Regions from separate parts of the Homo sapiens genome. Here region 2 is linked to region 1. The links are contacts of gene promoters, found by promoter capture Hi-C in human tissues and cell types (Jung and others, 2019). All regions are on one chromosome and are shown on one strand. Each heading gives the region's core, a stretch centred on a gene start or on the middle of the fragment in contact. The rest is flanking DNA. Distances are from core to core; before and after follow the strand shown. Region 1 holds the start of DST (dystonin). Region 2 overlaps DST (dystonin).

Region 1 (6,570 bases), core at 1,101-3,600:
GCTTTACGATAGTCCCGGTTTTTGATGTTTTCCATAAACTTTAATTAAGTAATTTAATAAAGACTTGGAAATTTGCAAACATTATCGTTTATTTTTATACATTTTAAAATTCAATTTTACAAAATATAATGATAGCTACCAAATACTGAATACTTATTATGAACTAAGTGGGATTTTTCTTTACACAATTTCTTGTAATTTCCTCCACCCTCCCATAACCCTGCAAGGTACTAATGGCCCTATCTTACAGATGGGTAAATCGAGGCACCGAGATGTATCACACAGCTAGTTAATGTAAAGCCAGGAATGGAACCTCTGATTACCTCACTTATCCTCTCAAGAATCCTAAACTGAATAGAGTTCTCACCTTCCAGGGCTATATACAGTAGAATTACTCTTTGTGCAACATTTTAATGATATTGCAATAATACAGTTAAAGTTTTTAAGCAACTAGAACCCAATAAAACATCTAGGGTGGCATAAAATATCTGATTAACTAATGAAATGAAAGGCAAGATAACTTCAGGTAAATGGAGGGCGTTTAACTATGAAGTCTTTGCCAACATGAGTAAACTGCACCAAGCAGCAACCTCCAAGCCTGGCGGCGTGCAACTTTCCTAAAAAGAGGGGAAATTATCTTAGGATAAGTGGAGGTTGGCCTGAAAACTCCTAAAGAAATCCTAGGTCAAGGAGCGCTTGTGTTTCTTCAGTGGAGCTGGTTCCTGGGTGCAGTGATTAGGAGTTACTTGCCCTAGAGGGATGGTCCACGTTTTGAGAGTGGAGACTAGCACAAGCATTTAAGCACACACTACCATCATCGCTTTGCAAAAATCATCAGATGGTCCCCAATAAAACATGGAGAGCTTTAGGAGAAAACAGAAATGTAAACTTGAAAATCGAAAATGAAATGCATATGGATCAAATTGTTCTGCACTAACCTCTTCGTTTATCCAAGTGAACAACCAGAGTCAACTGACAGCACCCAGAAAACACTTCCACCAGCAAAATATAAACTGTAAACTCAAGTGACATCCACCCTGTGGCTAAGTTTTTTAAGGTCTGCAGCACTTTTAGGGTTTGCCTTTTCCCCTCTTGTACAACAGCTCCACTACACAAGAAATTTGCTAAAACCGTTCGCTGGGCACTAATATGAAATCACTTAAAAGGAAACATGCCACTTTCGGCTAGGGGACAGCATGTTCGTCATTCAGTGTCCTACTGGTTTCTTAACACGCATATAATTAATATTGGTACTCAGGAAAGAGAACTTCTTCTGACCTTGAGCGTGCGCGCTAAATAAATTACCTCAGAACGAAAGTGGTGCGATCTCAAAACAGCATCTGGGGAGAAAAGAGATAAATGAGACTTCATTTAACTCCTTGTTCTTCACCTACCGAGTGACTCATGACTTACCTGGGAGACCAGGGTTGGGAAAGCACATCGCAGACTCCTGGAATTCGGTGGGACATCCTGGGGGAGGGAGGAGGAGTCCTGGGGCCATCGGTCTCTACGTGATTTCTCCGCGAGAAGTTTGCATGAAAGTTCTGGGGGAGTTGGGGAGCCCCGAAGTTTCCATGCCTTACTTTCTTACCCCTACGCTCCAGCGAAGGATGCGTGAAGGCGAGGCTGGCGCAGCCCCGGACTACGCTCAAATTACCCTTAAGGCTTTAGCAAACTGACTAAAAATTTGAGTTCTTTCCTCCCCTCCCTGCCCTCGGCATCGCCGTGGTTATTCAAACCTGGGAGACTGGAGGGCGGAGGTGACGGCAAAAAGGGCAAGGGGCGTTAAAGAAACGCACTCAGCCTGGGGAGTGGGCAATGATGGGGCTAGGGGCAGCCGAGGAGAAGGGAGCGAGCCGCGCTTCACTCTCCAAATCGGCTTAATTGTTCCTGGTAGCCCGCAGAAACCCGTCGCGGCGTGTCTTACCTCGGCTTCTTGAACGACCCGAGAAGACCGATTTCATCGGATGCCTCCCTTTCTGGAGCTTGCGGTGCCAGCAGCAGAAGAAGACGATGGTGGCGATGGTGCCCAGCAGAAGCAACAAGAGGAAGAGGGCACATTGGATGCTGTAGGGTCTCAGCAAGACGAGGAAAGCCGCGGCGATCATGGTGCGGGCGAGGCGAGGGCGACTCGACGGCGGGGCTGGAGGGCGGCGGCACAGGCACCCGCGCTGGGCGCACGCCGGGACGGCGGGCACGGGTGAGCGCGGCTCAGCGCGTCATGCCTGGCGCTCGCGGCCCCGCGCCCAGCCCAATGGCTGCGCACCCCGCGCCAGCCGCGCTACGCGAGTGATCCAGGGCTGCGGGGAGCGCTTGCCATGACTCAGCAGACAGCGACGAGGCTGCGACTCGGCGGCTGGGATCCTCTCCCCTCCCTCCCCAGGCGCCCCCGCCCCCGTCCGTGCGCAGCCCCCGGGCGCAGCCCCGCCGGGGACGCGGCGAGTGGGGAGGAGCAGCGCCGCCGCCGCGGCCGCCCGGGCCCCGCGCATCGTCCTGCGGCCGCCGCCGACCTCAGCATCCCAGAAGCCGGGCGCACGTGGGTCGGGGCGGGGACGCGGCGCTCAGGCTGCAGCCGCGGCAGCCTGCGGGGGGCGGGAATGGGGCGCCGCGGCGGGGGCTCGGCTGATGACATCACGGCCAGGCTGCGGCAGCGCGGGCGCGCGGACATGGCTGCGGCGGTTTCGGCGGCGTCCGCGGGCTGCACCCGGGCCTGAGAGCCCAGCGCCCTCCCGCGGGGCCGCCCGCCAGTCCGCGCCGTCCGCGGGTGCATTGGCCGGGTGCCTCTAGCTTCCCGGACACCCGGAGCTTCCGCCTATCCAGCCTCCCTCGGCCAAATTGCTGCGGAGCCCGTCGTCAGGGGGCGCCAAGGAGCCAGGGGGAAAACCGAGAGGCGCTGACAGGAGCCTCCCGGCGGTGCTACCCTCCACCTCCCACCTCCCTGCGCCCCGCCCCGAGGTTGGGGCTTTGAAGAATGCAGCCGGGTGAGCTATTGCTTGTGGGGGTTTCCTCGCACTCTGAAGCGCGAGCGCCGGGAAGGGCCTTCCCTGGGAATTGGGATACTCCAGGAACGGGAGGCCCACTCCTCTCCAAGCCTCTCTAAACTAGGAGCGCTCCGGGGTAGTACGCTCTGGTCGGCAGAGGTGAACTCTTCCACCCCAAACTTGGTGCTTATCTCGCAGCTAAGAATTGGGCACTTTCGATCTTCTTGTATCCCTGGGTTTGCCCTAAAACCCTGACTCATTTAGTGCATTTGAAGGGCAAGGCGATTTCAGATTTAGGGACCTGGCAGATGAAGTAAGTTGGTACTTGGCTTATAAACATTTGGGGGAGAAATTTTTTAGGGAGTGTGAGGCAATAGTGATCTCTCACACTTGCAGGCACACTCTGTCTCCCCTTTGTCCCCTCCCCACGTTTCTTCATAACCAGCAAAAAGTATATGGCAGTTGGTGGCCAGGGGATTTAACACTGATGCAATGCCAGCACGGAAGGTATAGCGAGAGCGCTGCAGTGTGCCTTTCTGCGGACGGCCACGGCCACCTGGCCAGGAAGCGGCTGCTGCAGCAGTCATTCTGCGGCATCTTGCGGCCTTGGCGGGCGGTGCTGTGCCGCGTTCTGCTGCCCCCAAGGCAATGCTGGCTTTCCCTGTGTGGGGCTGGATTGTTTGTTTCATTTACTCGCATAAGAAAACTTTAATTATAGTGACAAGGTAACACTTGACTGCATTTGCGGAGTTTCTTATAACAACTGTATTAGCCTCTTTTTTGGAATATTTAATAGACTGAAGAAATTGTGTCATAAAAATTTATAAAAATTTGAAAAGCAGGTAAATAATTGGGAGGAATAAAAGTTTTATTTGCTTGTAGTGATCTCAAAATCAGTGTTGTTTTCCAACTATACAAAACCGTACAGCTCTGCATGAAAGCTTAATCATTGATGTCCTTAAAGCCAGTAACATATTACCGTGTGTAAGTATTAAACCTAAAAAGGCATTGGTTAATGCAGTCTCTTAGTGCCAGATTCATAAGCATGGAAAACAACAGATACGTTTTGTTTACAGCTGGTTTCCTTAAACAAAATAAACATTCGAATTGTTGACATGTTGCATCTCATTCATTCAGTTGTTTTGGATTGAACTCAGAAGGGCCCTTGCTTGGAGACACTGCATAAGGTGGGAATTTTGAATGGCAGCATGTAGGCTGCACTGAATTCCAGGATAGGCTTCATGGGTCTCTAGCACTCAGAGTGGGTGACAGGTAGCACTACATCATGTGCATATGGCTAAAGGTTTCTTGATACCGCAGCCCACTGCAGTGAGAAACTATTCAACAATTATGCAGAGGTTATTGAAGAAAATCCTGAGAGTTTGCAATGTGTGGCACATCAGGAAAGGAAGAATTCTCCACCGCATTGACTCAACAATGGCATGGTGGAGTAATTTTAAACAACAAAACTGAACTAACCGTGTGCAGACATTGGGGGAAATAACTAACAGAATTTTGGAAGGTCATCTTTATGCTTCTCATTGACTGAAATTTGTAAGTGAGCTGAAATAGCCTACGTATCCTTGAACAGAAACATGTCAAAGACACACAGAATAGTATTCAAATTGCCCCAAACGCTATATTTTTTTAACAACAAAAAGCAACTAAATAGCTATTATGGTTTTCTGAGCTATGACTTTAGCACAACTGTTATCATCCTGCGTCTTGCTGCAGCCATTTATAAGTTTCAAGTGCACACAAGAACATCATTTATCTCTCTTGGCAGGCAAATGCTTAACTGCCATGCAATAGGATTATAGATATTTCTTTTTAGATGCATTCATTTCTGTTCTTTCCATCAGTTGTCTTAAAGATACTAATAATAAACAAACCAAATCCTTGAAAGAATTTAGTATTTAGTTCCATTGTTATTTTCTGATTTGTTTGTTGCTAATTTATCATTTTTTCCAAATAACAGCATACATAGTATTAATTGCTTCTGTCTGTGTGTTTATGTGGTGCCTAATGCATTGCGGAATTCAATAAATACTAAATCAGCCAAGCAGTGCTTTTTGGAAGTTAATTTAGTAGAAATTATACCTTGCCTTCCTGGTAGGTTTTTGCTTTAAAAAAAGAATAATTGACATTGTATAAAAGTCACACACAAAAAAAATTGTTAAGTTTGAGGATAGGGATGGAGGGGGAGAGCCATGGCCCAAATCTTTCATACAAAAAAATGAAAATTCATAATGGAAAAGTATGTATAATTTGTTGACTTTTTTTATGAGAGTAAGTTATCATTGTCACCCAAAAGAAGACAAAATAGTTGGGAAAGATAGCTAAGAGAGTTTGATACCACGTATGTAGAAGATGGTCCATTATATAGCCCTTCTTCCCTTTAGATTCTCAACCAAATTGGGAATAGACACAAGGAACCATAAGGAAATTAAAATATTGTGTTAACTCTATTCAAGATAAAGTCAGATTGAAGAACACAGCTTAGCCTCAAAGCCAAAATGGGGCATCTTATTCCTTTTTTCTTACTTGGCATGCTCACCCAGTCCACAGCTGAAAAATGACAGGCCTCCCCAGCATTAGGGCAGGAAGGAACCCAACCTGTTCAAATTCCGGCATAAACACCAAAGGCAAAGGGAAGCCTGACACTTTATAATCCATAAGGCGTTCAGCATGTGTGAGCAAGAGACAGGCCCATGTGTGAGAAGGGAATTTTATACATCACTCCTGCCCACTAATGGGTAGTAGGCCCTCCTGAGTTTTTCCATCACTAAGTCTTTTCATTCCCAAAAGATAGCAGTGAGTAAGGTGCTTTAAAAAGGCGGCAGAAACATCTTCCTCAGTACTTTCTTAGAGGCAGAAAGTTGTGGCACAAGTTCCTAATGTATGGATCAAGAAGAAACATCAGAAAGAAGAAAAGTTTCCACCCTAAGCTGTGTAACAACCAGTTGAGAAAAAGGGAGGAACTGAAGATAACTCAGGTTTTGAGCTAGGGTAGAGGAATAATTTGGAAGGAGAAGATAACAAACTGCATTTTAGACCCACTGAGATGGAAGCCTCAGAAGGACATCATTGTGAAAATATCCAGCAAGCCCATGGAAATGTGGAGAGGTCAGAACCAAAAACAGATAGGGAGTCATCAACATTGTAGTTGGAGTAATGGAAATAGAGGAAATGACTAAGGAATAGATGCTAAAGAGCATCCCAGAATCAGAACTTTGGAGACGGCTTCCATTTCTGGCCTGGAGGATAGCAAAGTGGTCGAAGCCAAGTAGGGAGTGTTCCAATTTAGTGGCTTTCTGGAACAGATGCACAAATGGGAGTCTAAGGAGGGCAAGGACTGAGGACTGGTGACTAGGAGACCTCCGGAAACCTTTCAGAGAACTGATTCATCATGGCAGGAGAGGCTAAAACCAGACATTAATGAGTTGAGGGGGGAATGAAGATGAGAAAGAGGAGAGGGTTGTTGTCTACAATCTTTGCAGAAATTTAACTCTAAAGGGGATGAGTAGAAAAGCAATTAAATCCTGAATAAAGGCCAATGGTGATTATTTTGTCAGGCTAGGGATATTTG
Region 2 (6,570 bases), core at 2,203-4,702, 300 kb before region 1:
AGGATTCCATTCAAAGTTCTGCTAATGCAATTATCTGGCATTTCCCCATGATGTATTTTCTTTCCTAATCTATGTCTTGTTCTAGTCATCAGCAAGTACTCTGATCACTTCTTCTATAACTAAGAATCTACACTAACCAGAAGCCAGTACAATTCATCCAAGGGTCTGGACAATGGAAATCCATTTGGAAATAAGTGTATTTGAACATGAAATCTGAAAATGGTTTTGAAATCAGAATGCAATGTTTCAGGACGTCTGTTGGTCATTAAGCACCGAATACTCCTGTGTGCTAAACACTGTTCATGGCACCACATGGTCGTTGTAGGGAAAAGTTTTCCTGCCCTGGAAAATTACATGTCCATGTAGGGAAACATCACACAAACAGCTTGAGAACACTTAAAAAGTATCATATCATCAGATGCCAAGTAATTTCGTGCCAAGGACAAACTCCCCGTGGCAATGAGAATGAAAGCTGTTCTACAGATATTCTGTACGGATGCAGGAGCACAATGAATAACTCTAATGGAGCTCACCCTAGGTTATTACAGTTTTTTCTATCCCAGTTTGATCATGAAAATAAAGCTTACAAACCAAAGAATTAAGGCTTTGTCGGCAATATTCGCATTATCAGCTTCTAGAAATAAAGTAGACCACTTTGCTATTATAAAACCAAATATACAAATGAGACAACTTACTCTTTAATAAGTTTACATATTTGTAATGGCTTTTTGTAATGTTTTTTTTTTTTTTTGAGACGGAGTCTTGCTCTCTCGCCCAGGATGGAGTGCAGTGATGCGATCTCGGCTTACTGCAACCTCCACCTCCCAGGTTCAAGCGATTCTCCTGCCTCAGCCTCCTGAGTAACTGGGATTACAAGTGTGTGCCACCACGCCAGGCTGATTTTTGTATTTTTAATAGAGATGGGGTTTCACCATGTTAGCCAGGCTGGTCTCAAACTCCTGACCTCAGGTGATCCACCCATCTTGGCCTCCCAAAGTGCTGGGATTACGGGTGTGACCCACCGCACCCGGCCTATAATGGCTTTTATATCTGCAATGTCTTTGCCTCAAAAGCTTGCCCTAAGTTTTTCAGTATTAGCAAATGTTTTACTAAACCATGAATTCACTTATACTGGAAGTCAGACATGTATTTTCAAATTCATGGTGAAATACTGTGTACCTCTTCCTGCACAAAAGATGCTTCCTGCACAAAAGAAGCAGTTTTTAACAGGGCTCAACCACAGGCACACCCCCAATCCAGTGCCACACTTGTATGTACTTCCCAGGGTCCCTTCTACCTCAAGCCATCTCGGGGGCTGCAAGCATTTCCCATGTACTAAAATCAATCTGACAATGTCAGTTTCAGAGACTCTCTCAAATTAAACCTTTAACCTCTCAACCAAAGCTGAGTGACTACAGCTAATCTGTTTTAATTGTTAATGTTTTACCTCCATTTTCTCTGTATAATAAGAGAAATGAGTAATACAAATTTTGCCTACTTATTAATGGCTTTCCAAGGGCAACTTTTGTTGAACTTCTAAAATTACAGAATTATTATAGCATTACTTAAGGGTTTACAATTGAATCAATCCTATGTAATTTCTACAGTGACACTAACCTTCAGTTCTACAGGATTATTAGGAAATGTTCTCTCAGACATTGTGGTCACATGGTGTCTAATCCATTGGATGAGGTAGTTCACCATATTCTGGTATTCAATCCATTTGACTTCAACATCCTAGAACAATCAAATGATAGAAAAGGTTCACATCTGTAGATAATAACATTCATATCTAAGACAATTTAGTCAGAAGTCATTCTGTAAATGTATGTATTTGAAGCCTGACAGACAGAACCAGCTAAATGTTTTCTTACTTTCACCCAGCCCCAATCCCTGTCACATAAACACCTGTAAAATTTGCTATCAACATTTGGCCACTAACACTAGCCTTATGAGTGCCAATTCTGATCCAAAGAAAGTGGCTGCCTGGGGTATTGTATTTAGAAGGCTTTTGGGGCTCAATCTAAGCACAGCAGAAAAAAATCCAAAGTCAATTTGGGGTGTTTACCAGGGCTCAAGATTGGGCAGTAACAACTTGCATAAGCCAAGTTAGTTGCCATCTTTGCCAACTATTTTAGATCTAAATCTACTATGTATCTCAAACTCAAAAGACTTACCCAATATATAGGAAACCAGATATGTACACAAACTACAGGAAATGTATATGGTGGGATTATCCAAGTACTCAGTAGGCAAACTCTTTAAAAATGGAGGAAACTTGGAAGGCTGCCAACTGCTCTGTTTAAGTATTTGATGAGTGCTTATTATTATGTTCAAAGGTTGTGTTGAGTGTTATAATAAAAAAATACTTTAAGATATAATACCTATTGTCAAGGAGTTACTGTCTAAATGCAGAGGCAAGAGAGATACATAATATAAACAGGCAAAATGAAGAGCAGTATTTAATTAAGTGTTGAAATGTTGAAATAACTAAAACGGGTAGTACATGCTAGTTGAGATAAGAATCAGGCAAGCATATCTGTGCCTTAAAATAGTTTCTAAAGGCTTCTTGGGAAAGGCAGTATCTGAGATGTTCTGCAATGACCAGTAAGTAATTATTGATGGGGGGAGGTGAGTGGGGGTGCTGAAAGAGTGGATAAAAGGGGAGTCCCAAGTGAGTCAGGACATTGACATGGAAATGTCCTGGCTACCAGTAAACAGTTCATATTGGGAAATCATAGCTAAAACATGTAGGTAAACAGAATAAATATTTGCAGTTTTAAATGTCAGAATATCTAGATTGCATTTAACTTTGCAAGGAATATGTAGACACTGAAAATTTTCAAGCCAAAGACATCAGGTTTTAGACAGATTAATTTGGCAACAGTGTGCCGAGGCAGTGGGAAGAAGAACAAAATGGAGACAGAAAGCTGTAGGAAAGCTATCGGCCTAGTTCTGCAGTAATAGGCAGCAGGATCAGCATGAAGGTTGGGAGAAGCAGCAGCAAGAGATGGCCAAAGAAACATTCTGAAGCAACGCTCAACATTGAATCATCAGGGGTGAGCATGGGAACAGGCTACTCAGGGATCAAAGAGCATGAAGCCTTTGAAAAGAAGAACCTGAGGAAGAATATGGAAACAGGTCTAGAAACAGCACAGAGAACTGACAGAAGCAATCAGAAAAGGGAGCTCCTAATCCAGGGGAGCTAATCAAAGATGAGCTCCTAAATCTTCAAAGTAATGTAGGGGAAAAAAGGTGTCTGCAAAGAGGAAGGCAGAAATCCAAGTGAAGGGGATCATCCCCAAATATGTGACACATACTGGGCTTCCTGTTCTCTTCAGAAATGCATAAGCACTTGTTAGCATAACCACCCAAAAAAAAAAAAAAAAAAAAAAAGCATCACTGAAGTGAGTTACACAAACCTTTAAGAAATAGTAGACTAATAAACAGCCCAAAGCTATGTGTCAGAGACCTTTCCCTGCTTACTAAGTGGCTCTGCTAATTTGGCCAAATCCAATAATTTTCCTCTGGAGTCCTCCTTTAAATCACAAAAATGTTATCAAGCCAACTTATTTCATAGAATCGTATGAAGTAACAAATTTGAAATTGTTTTCAAAACTGAGATATTCTATACATACAAAAGAATAGCAAATACAGCAATGTAAAACGGCAGCCAGCTAAAAATGGAAAACTCTAAATTTCAGAAAGTTAAACCTTTTATTTATAAGATGATCGGTAACTATAAATAGCCTCTTTTATTTATGACACAAAAGTTTTAATGAGTTATACTTTAAATTTAATGGTAGAATAATGTCATGAAATACATAGAATATCAATTCATCAAACAGCATATTAACTCAAATTCTTTAAAATATATTCAACATTCAAAAACTGCAAAAATCATTATCAATAAATGCAGTCAATTGGTCATTACTGAATCAACAGCTTCCGGTGTGGAAAAATCAATACTCACATTTGCACCAATGCCTTCCCCACCTTCAGGGACTTTAGGAAATGCATCATAGAGAGATGACACGTAAGTTATTACTGATTTTTCATCAGGTGAGGAGACATCGACATCTAAAAACAGCAACATAAATTAATTATTTCACAATGTTGATAAATTACTTTTGATCAGACTTTCATGCCAGTCCACATATAATCAAGAAAATAACTCACCTTCAGGGTCCAGAAGTCTTATAACACCAATTTTTTCTGCTACGTAAAAAGCATGCTCTAAATTTGCAAGGTTGCTTTGAACAGCAACAGTATTCATATCTATCAGGTCCGGCCTAGGAAAAAATTCACTGTGTTAATTAGGTTTTCTCATGTGCCAATTCAACATTATATAATTATATAGGTTTCCATTTACATAACAACATCTGCTAATATTAACACCAAGCCTGCGTTAAAATGCAGAGACTTTCATCAAACATTTAACATTGCTCACTTATCTCAGAAACTTCTGTATCGAAAGCAAATATAACAATGAAAATATAACAATTTGAACATATATAAATTTCAACAAAGTCTACAAATATATCATAGTCAGAATATATATGAGTATTTGTCCTATTCAACTGATTTAAGCTACGCTACTCCAACAGCATCTTTCCAATCCAACCAGCATCCTGTCAATGTTTTTCCTCTAAGACAAAAAGCTTGTAGCTTAATTCAGTGCTGTGTCCATGGCCTCCCCATTGCACCATACCCTTTCACATCATCTTTGTCTTCTATAATCCTAGTCATTCTTCCAAGGAGAGATCAAGCTCCACCTCCTCTATGGAGCCTGGCTGATCTTCCTAGCCCTTATTTCTGTCTCTGTTTCCTGAACTCATACTTCCAGCCTGCACCCCACGATATGGCACTTAGGATAATCTTAGACTCCTTGCCCTATTAATTCACTGGTTCGTGTACATGTATATGTTGTTTCTCCCAAACCGTCAACTCCAAGATAGCAAGTACTATGTATTAAGAAAATTTTGTATTTTATCCTTCTGCTGTAATAAAGAATGATATATAGTACACCCTCAACAAATATCTACTGATAAGTTGGTAAGTAGGTTGGTTCCTTAGTAATCTGAATCATAAATGAATGTCTATAATAAGCAATAGTTTATGTTTTCATGAGCACACATGTGTGCATGTGCCCCCCTACACACACACACAGTCACACATCCCAGACTTCATATCTTTATAATTTGTGAGATTTACGTAACACCCTAAACCATGCAGAAACTTTGAAGCTAGCTCTATCTACATGAGAGAGGAAAAGATTCTTCAAATGCTTCTTGTAGAGAAAGTGGCAAAATATGGACATTGGAGACTTCACTCAAGGCTAGAAGCCAGTCAGGAAACTTGGATCTCAAAAACAAAGCATTGAAAGACTACCGGAACAATGTGGAAACAGGAAAGCCTTCAAAGAGTGGTACTCACCACCCAAAAAAATCACTGAGTAAGAACCTGTTGATAGCTTACAAAGAAAGGCTCTCTACAAGCTCCACAAGCATTCCTGTTTGCTCAAAATAATCATTTGGGAAACCACAGAAAGAGTGGGAGGGCTCAAAGGTAGTGTGGGAGAAATGAAATGCAGATTATTTTGTATACTACTTGGCAGGCTGCTTATATGAAAAGCTGTTTGAAAATATATCATTAATATTAGAAAGCTAAGTGGCAATTTGTACTCTTTTATGGTGAGAAAACAGACCTTTCAAGAAAATCTTATACTTTTATATCACTTTGCACTGTTCATAACCTGGGAATGTGGTTACCATCACCTACATGCTCATATTCCAGGAAATTATTAGGAAATCCTTTAATGTTTTCAACCTGCCACCAATATGACCACTCTTTTAAAAGTGACCCTACAATTATTATAGGAACAATAAATCCATTGACAACTATGGAAGTAAATAACAGACCTCCAAAAGTAACATTTTTTATTCACATAGAAACATCTGAAGAATCTGCCAACCTCAAGATTAGTAAACAGGTATGTATAGCAGTCTAGACAAAAACAAATATCTGAAGTTCTTTCAATAAAAAATCGTTTTGTTTCCGTAAAATTTGCACCTTTTAGGGAAATAAAAAACAGACTTTGTAAGTCTGCCAAATCTCAGAACAAGACATGGCATGTTATTATGAGAACCCTGCCATTAGCAAAGAAAGTAAACACTGAGTAATCCTAGAGGGAATGAATAAAGTCATTGAAGAATCAAGTTTTTCAGCTAAGAGAATAAAACATAAAACTTCCTTCAGAATGACATAGTCATTTCAACACAAAAGCAGCTGTAGAATACAATGAGTCTGAGTAAGTCATCTCTTTTATCATGATGTTTAACACTTTAATGGAACAAAAACTGAAATGGTTTTCCTCCACTAAAAGACAGCAGATAAAGAAAATTAGTTAAACAAAAAATGGGAAAAGGGAAAACTTTAAAAACCACTACAAAGCTGGGTGCGGTGGCTCATACCTATAATCCCAGCATTTGGGAGGCTGAAGAGGGCAGATCACCTGAGGTCTGGAGTTTGACACCAGCCTGACCAACATGGCGAAACCCTGTCTCTACT

Evidence for each region. Contacts are between HindIII fragments. The study calls those that stand out against the background at their distance.
Region 2: a contact is called between a fragment that was not itself captured here and the fragment with the promoter of DST in region 1, in 1 of the 25 tissues and cell types used here (hippocampus).

The regions. Positions count from the first base shown.
Region 1 is chr6:56,952,480-56,959,049 of GRCh38, forward strand. It overlaps DST (dystonin), which reads right to left and starts at 2,351. Exons shown (of 104, transcript NM_001374736.1): 1 at 1,928-2,351; 2 at 1,306-1,340. The coding sequence starts at 2,108. It overlaps BEND6 (BEN domain containing 6), which reads left to right and starts at 2,628. Exons shown (of 7, transcript NM_152731.3): 1 at 2,628-2,981. RefSeq lists an enhancer at 1,334-1,965 and a silencer at 2,127-2,816. The HindIII fragment of the contact is 8,212 bases long and covers 1-5,445 here.
Region 2 is chr6:56,646,953-56,653,522 of GRCh38, forward strand. DST (dystonin) reads right to left here. Exons shown (of 104, transcript NM_001374736.1): 11 at 4,180-4,292; 12 at 3,974-4,080; 13 at 1,618-1,737. Among named protein-coding and RNA genes, the nearest start is that of DST-AS1, 190 kb to the right of the region's middle. The HindIII fragment of the contact is 5,250 bases long and covers 828-6,077 here.